Linked DNA regions of Homo sapiens: region 2 is linked to region 1. Evidence: promoter capture Hi-C in human tissues and cell types (Jung and others, 2019). All regions are on one chromosome and are shown on one strand. Each heading gives the region's core, a stretch centred on a gene start or on the middle of the fragment in contact. The rest is flanking DNA. Distances are from core to core; before and after follow the strand shown.

Region 1 (3,703 bases), core at 402-2,901:
TTAGAGGAAAGAGCTGGAACAGAAGTGCTCAGGTAGGAGCCAGCCTGGGCTGACGGAGGGGCAGAAAGAAGGGCTGGAGTGGTGTAAATGGAGTTCAGAGAGACAGGAAATGAGGTCTGAGCGGCAGGCAGAGGACAAGCCAATGAGGACTTCGCAAAATTTGAACTTTAAGCAGGATGGGAAACGACTGAAAGGTTTTTAGTAAGGGATATACCACGTTCATGGACTGGAACACTCTGCTATTGTAAAGCTGTCAGTTCTCCCAAACACAACCTGTAGATTCAGTGCAATCCCAATCCCAAAGTCCTTGCTGGAATTTTTGTAGAAATTGACAAGTTAACTCTAAAAAACATATGGAAAGGCCAATAATACCCAAGACAATTATGAAAAAGATGGGAGGATCTACAGTACTAGATGTTAAGATTTATCACAATAGCCCTGGTAACAGATACTGCTGGGCTGGTTCAATGACAGTCACATAGATCAACAGAACTAAATAGAGGCCTGAGAAAAAGACACACACGTATGGTATATTTATTCTGTGACAAAAGTGGCACTGCTGAGCACAAGCTTCTCAATACATTTTACTGGATCAACTGGATGCTCATGCTCATGAAACTAGACCACACAAGCAGACAAAATGACAATTCCAAGTGGATTGTAGGTCTAACTGTGGAAAGTAAAGTCATAAAGCCTCAGTAGCATATGCAAAGATATTCAAGACCTCAGTCTTGAAGATTTACTTCTATATTTTCTTCTAAGAGTTTGTTTTAGCTCTTATGTGTAGGGCTGTGACCTATTCTGAGTTAATTTGTGCGTATGAAGGAAGGAAGGGGTCCAGCTTCATTATTTTGCATGTGGCTGTCCACTTGTCCCAGCATCATTTGTTGGAAAGACTATTCTTTCTCCATTGAATTGGCTTGGCGGGCTTGTTGAAAATCTGTTGACTGTGAATGTGAAGGCTGAGAACACTTTATCATGAACTGTTAGCTTCACCTATGTAAAGATATCTTCTCTCTGCTCTGCCTCCTGTCAAAATCTGACAGGACTCTTGCTCAAAACAAGCTTTGTTTCCTGAGTTCTGTGGCCTTGTCTCATGTGGAGCAATCATGTCACATTAACCCCCTCCCCACCCCCACTCCACGTCCACCCTGTGGCACGGCTTTGCCTTTTCCCGGCTGCTTTATCATCTGCTTTTTCAATTAGGACTATTTTTAAAACATTTCCCCAGTTCTTAAATATTTTCTGAGTGCTTGATTCTAGATAGCTACATTGTATGGAATTCCTGAACCATTCTGACTCACAACACTTCTGATGCCAAATGTGTGGGGGTTATATTTCCTTTTTTAAAAATCCCCACACCAACCAATTCTCCAACTGTCTGAACACTGTCGGGGTATCATGCAATTCCGTTCTGATCCTAACTACCCAGAGTTAGCACAGACCCCACAAGGTGAAGGCTCAGCCCCACAACACTGCCCCCACTTCAGATGCCAGTCGCAGCACCTGACCGCCCATACTTCTGACTAACTGGCTAAAATTGGAGGTTCCTACAAATCCCCTCCTCAGGTTAGATAATCTGCTACAAGAGTTCACGGGACTCAGGGAGGCACTTTACTCATGATTACTGGTTTACTACAAAGAATGCAACTCAGGAAAAGCCACGTGGAAGAGACACGCAGGGCCATGTATGAGGGGCAGCACGGAGCTTCAAGGCCCACCCCAGGCGCCCACCCTTCTGGCACCCCACCCACTCAGCAGCCCGACAGCTCTCTGAGCCCCATCGTTTGGGGTTTCTATGGCAGTCACTTCATTTAGGCATGGTTGATTAAATAATTGGCCACTGGTGATTGAAGTCCTTCCCCAGCCGCTCCCTGGAGGCCCAGCCTGGGGCTGAAAGCTCCAGCCCTGTAATCACATGGTTGCTTCCTCTGGCAACCAGCCCCATCCTGAAGCTATTTAGGGGTCCACCAAGAGTCACCTCATTAGCACACACTCAGTATGGCAGGAAGGGGGTTGTTATGAATAACAAAAGATGCTCCCTCTCCCCTGTCATTCGGGAGATTCCAAGGATTTCAGACGCTTGGTGTCAGGAACAGGGACAAAGACCAAATGTCCATTTCGTATCATCACAGGGATTCCATGTGTATAGGCATCAAGATTTACGTAACCCACCATTACTAAAAATTTAATTATTTTAATTTATTCCTGTTTCTACCAACTCGATTAACAATTGCATCCCCAATACATGATTTTGTGCAGCGCCCTCTGGTAGGCATTGCAGAGAGAAGAATGCAAATTAAATAAGAAAAGCCCTCTGCCCTTCAGGAGCTTTTGGTGAAGATCTCTTTTTTAAAAAGCTGCAAGACTGCTGCCCGAAGTGGGACACACAACCTAAATAAGGGCGAGAACCGGCAAGGACGGCCCAGCCACGTGGAACCGCCTCGCAACTCTGGCGAGGTGGGTGCTCGGTGGCGCCACCGTGTGGAAGCTTGGGAAACAGAAAACCTATTCTCCGCGCTCAGGGCCAGAGTTTCATCCTGGGTCTCTGACTGGGGCCAACTGTAACGGAAACAGCCCTGACTGTAAGTCAGAATCCTACAGTCCTCTTTGGCCAGGGAGTCTTCCTGGAGTGACCTCCACTGCTTTCTCCAGCTTTCCAGTTTTAACCTACAGGGCCCAGCCTCCTCTTGAAATTGGGCGAGACGAAGAATGATCATTGCCAACTTGAAATTTGGTTGAACAGATACATTTCTCAGGGTACGCATGGGTCACTTCCCAGCACTGTCTGTGTATGCGGCCTCCGAGAAAGCAACCTCCCTTATCAGGCTAACAGAATTGACAGTAAATCCTCCCAGCAAACCCATTCGACAGGATGGTGGGTGTTAGTCCAAACTGCACCATTTTGTAAGCCCCCTGCCATTTTGCGGACCCTGGTCAGAGTGAAACATTCCATGTGGATTCAGGCCGTGAGAAACATCCTGCCTAACCACCTGACCGCAAGGCACAAGAGCATCCTTATCATACCCTGCTGGGCAAAGGCGCAACTGAAGGAACATCCCCATCATATCCTGCGGGGCAAAGGTCCAAGAAACAGCCTATCACATCCCGCTGGAAAAAGGTCCAAACCGCCTGATCACAGGAACATCTTATCAATATCCTCCCGGCGAGCTAGCCATACTGCCCAGACCCCCACCTAGACCTATAAATTACGCCAGCCTGTAAGCGGCAGGGGGCTCTGGCATTAAGCTTGTCCCCCACCTCCTCAGGTCTTGTGCTGGATGTAAAACCTGTGTTGCCATAGAGCCACCGACTCTCTCTGTGTCTTTCTTTAACCCTTGCCTTCCCTTCAAAACCTAACAGTGGGACCACAGGCTCTGGGCTGCAGCTGGGTGTTCTCATCCTCCAGTGTGGATGGCTCACAGCAGAACTGAGTCCTAATAACCTCTTGTGAATGCTGCAGAACTCTCTCTCTGTCTCTCTGTCCCGCTCCCCCAACTGCTGCACGAGTCCAGAGATGCAGCTGGCCAACACCACCCAGAAGGACCCCAAACAGAACAGCTGGCTGTCTCGGAACATTCCCGTGGCTCCCTCTGCCCTGTCCCTCTCACCGTGGCTCCTGGAAGTGCTCTATGGCCTATTGAAAGGACGCCCCTACAAAGCTTCCCCTGGTTCCCCCACCTGAAAAGTGATTTCTCCTCTT
Region 2 (3,441 bases), core at 101-2,600, 99 kb before region 1:
CCCTGTGGAGGCCCTTAGTTAAAAGGAAAGAATGGCTGTGAAAATCGATGCATTGCGCTCCCTTGTCCCTCACCCTCAGTGTGAAGGGTTTTTATTCCGAGTTCTACTTGAAGTAGGCCTCGATGGGAAGACAAGTAGCATGAGGGGTTCAAGTACTGAGGGGAGCAAGGGACACTCGGTGGCTGTGCCAAGGTGTAGAAGAGGACACTGGGGGCCCCAAGGCCTGACTTCATGTACACTGCTCAGGCTGGCCCCCAAGTCACACGGTGACCGCTAGGAAGGGACCAGCCTGTTCTCAGTCTGATCCTCCTGCCATGTCATTATCCAAAGCTCCTCCTGGCAGGGCCTGTTTGGGGTCTCTGTGCCAGTGCTTTCCCTGCCAGGCTGGGCTGGGGCTTCCACCTACTGCTCTGGGACTGCTGCTGCCCTGGCCCTGGGGGAGGAGGGTGTGCCGCTGAGTCACTGCCTGGGCATCTGGGCCTGGAACCTCGGGTGAGTCACTTAGGGCTGAGGTAGAGGGGCTGGGGGAGGGGAAGAAGCTACTCGACAGCTGGAGCAGGGAGGGGAGCTGGGGCCACAGGAAGGGCGGTGCCCTGATGCCCAGACGGGCCGGGATAGACAAAGGGCCAAGGAGGAAGGGGCCCTGGGAGGGGGCAGCCCTCCCTTGGGCTGGGCTCTGAATGGCCACAGTGTTTGCCTTTCTCCGGGTCTGGGGAGGACATGTGTGTGGGGGGCAGTGAGAGAGGGCTGTGGCTGAGGGCTGTGCTTCAGGCCTGGATTCTGGCTTGGGAAGCTGTCCAGCTGGTGTTTTCAGCCTTGGGTAGGGATGTACCCCTACCCACCCACCCAGCCCTCAAGCTGGAGAAGAGGAGGCCAAAGTTTTCCTGTTCAGCCTTTAACTACTCGGGACTTCCTTATGCTCCCCACAGACTGTGGCCCAGCCCAACTGCGGCTGTGTGTAGAGCAACCCCATTTCTCACTGCTTCCCCATCCTTCCAGACACCTTCCTACACAGAGGGACCTTCCCAGGTATTTCTAAGCACACTTAGTTACCTCATTACCTCATTAAGAGGTATTCTGGTGCTGGCCATTAAAAGTCACTCCACTTCATCCATGCCCTGAAGTCAGTCCTGTCCTTCTCCTCCTGATGTCCCCCAGCTGCCTCCTCTGGCCCCCAGCTTCCTAAGGGTGGCCCCAGGTTGCTTCTCTCTCACACACACGGGCGCATGTATGTACACGAGCACTGGACCATGAAGTCTCAGCGTGTGCTCACAGCCTCTCACACAGGAGTGGGCTGTGACTCACAGGCATGTCATGAGAATGAGGCCTGGCACCAGTCTCCAGGCCCCAGAGCAGGGGTTGCCTCCCCTCACCCCGGTCCAGGATGCCCAGTCCCCACGACACCTCCCACTTCCCACTGTGGCCTGGGTGGGCTCAGGGGCTGCCCTTGACCTGGCCTAGAGCCCTCCCCCAGCTGGTGGTGGAGCTGGCACTCTCTGGGAGGGAGGGGGCTGGGAGGGAATGAGTGGGAATGGCAAGAGGCCAGGGTTTGGTGGGATCAGGTTGAGGCAGGTTTGGTTTCCTTAAAATGCCAAGTTGGGGGCCAGTGGGGCCCACATATAAATCCTCACCCTGGGAGCCTGGCTGCCTTGCTCTCCTTCCTGGGTCTGTCTCTGCCACCTGGTCTGGTGAGTACCTCTGTCCTGCTGAGGGCAGGGTGGGGAGGATCCCCGTGGGTCTCTGTCTTTGTCTCCACAGTTCTCTCATTCCAGCTTCCCTGGTGGGATCAACCTGGGCCTCTCTGGGCCTTCCCCCTTGGAAGAACTCTCTGTGAAGTGCTGAAGTGTTGACTGAAGGGTTTTTTTTTTTTTTTTTTTTTTTTGAGATGGAGTCTCGCTCTGTCGCCCAGGCTGGAGTACAGTGGTGTGATCTCAGCTCACTGCAAACTCCCCCTCCCAGGTTCACGCCATTCTCCTGCCTCAGCCTCCCGAGTAGCTGGGACTGCAGGCGCCCACCACCATGCCCGGCTAATTTTTTTGTATTTTTAGTAGAGATGGGGTTTCACCATGTTAGCCAGGATGGTCTCGATCTCCTGATCTCGTGATCCACCCATCTCGGCCTCCCAAAGTGCTGGGATTACAGGAGTAAGCCACCGCGCCCGGCCGACTGAAGGGTTTTTCTCCAGGTTCCTCTGTGAGGTCTCAGTGCAGGGGTTGCTCTGAGGCCCTCCCCTGGATATCTCAGTCTAGGGGCCCTTCTTTGGGGGTCTAGGCCTAGGAGCAGGAGGTGTGCATGTGGGCGTTGCTGCAAAAAGAATCCTGAGATTTTTTTTTTTTTTTGCAAAGTCCTGGATTCTAGCAGGACTAAGGTGCAAGAGGCAGGGGTCTCAAGACTCTGCCTGGGTCATGGCCCCAAGCAGCAAAGCTCTGCCCCCTGCCTCGGTGAAGGCAGGGCTGGCATGATGGGCCCAGGGCATGCCCTGCCTCTGGCATAGCTCCTCTGGCCTCACCCTGAAACCTGCCTAACCTTTCCAGGCTGGTCTGAGTATTCTCAGAGGCCTTGCCGCTGAGGTCTGTCCCATCCTGATCCCAAGGCAATGAACATTTCATATCTTTAATTCTAATTCCAACAGGATCCTTCCTGGTGGAGAGAATGTTAAGTTGCCCCCACCCTATCCATGCCCCTGTCTGCCTAGAGGCTCAGGGGCCTTCAGGGTGAGGGGAGACACATTCCCCACCCTCTGGGAGCTCCTAGTCTGAGAGAGGAAACACTCCTGCCCAAGGGAGCTTCCAGTTAGATGGCAGAGAGAGATGCCTCTGGCTTCAGGAGTCCCGAGTCTAAGGAGGGAAACGACTCCTTCAGGGAGCTTCCTGCTCCTAGGCTGTAGCCATGGCTCCTGCCAGACTGCACAGGAGCCCCCATCTGCCAGCCGGTGCATGTGGCCCTGCTCCCCAGAGCCTGCGCAGATGCCATCAAAATGGGACTCTGGTCACCCTGTCATTTCCCTTCTGGCAGACACTAAAATGGGGAGCCCTGCCCTCAGGGGGGTGTCCCAAGTGCCATCAGAGGAGGCTTGGTGACTCCCAGACACAAGGGAAGCTTTAGCGTCTGCCCTCAGGGTGAGATGGAGGTATCGCCTCCGGCCTCAGGGAACCACAGTCTGAGGGGGAGATGCAGCCCCTGCCTTCCCATTCAGAGAGGGGTTTTGTGAGGTGGCTTGGGGGCATAGGGCAGAAGTGGATCCTACAGGCTGAGCTAAGGCCCCAAGAGCCTCAGCAGTGTACCCATCACCTGGCACCTCTGCAGCCACAGATCCATGATGTGCAGTTCTCTGGAGCAGGCGCTGGCTGTGCTGGTCACTACCTTCCACAAGTACTCCTGCCAAGAGGGCGACAAGTTCAAGCTGAGTAAGGGGGAAATGAAGGAACTTCTGCACAAGGA

What was found. The method cuts DNA at HindIII sites, captures the fragments that hold promoters and counts their contacts. A contact is called where the count stands out against the background at its distance.
Region 2: the fragment with the promoter of S100A2 here is called in contact with a fragment that was not itself captured in region 1 in 4 of the 25 tissues and cell types used here (liver, mesendoderm cells, pancreas and 1 more).

What each region holds. Positions count from the first base shown.
Region 1 is chr1:153,464,696-153,468,398 of GRCh38, reverse strand. It overlaps LOC124904422 (a long non-coding RNA gene), which reads left to right and starts at 2,289. Exons shown (of 2, transcript XR_007066629.1): 1 at 2,289-2,460. The HindIII fragment of the contact is 3,611 bases long and covers 1-3,456 here.
Region 2 is chr1:153,563,753-153,567,193 of GRCh38, reverse strand. It overlaps S100A2 (S100 calcium binding protein A2), which reads left to right and starts at 1,350. Exons shown (of 3, transcript NM_005978.4): 1 at 1,350-1,688; 2 at 3,307-3,441. The coding sequence starts at 3,317. RefSeq lists enhancers at 189-428, 126-1,325, 1,299-1,358, 1,478-2,235, 2,236-2,993. The HindIII fragment of the contact is 11,510 bases long and covers 1-3,441 here.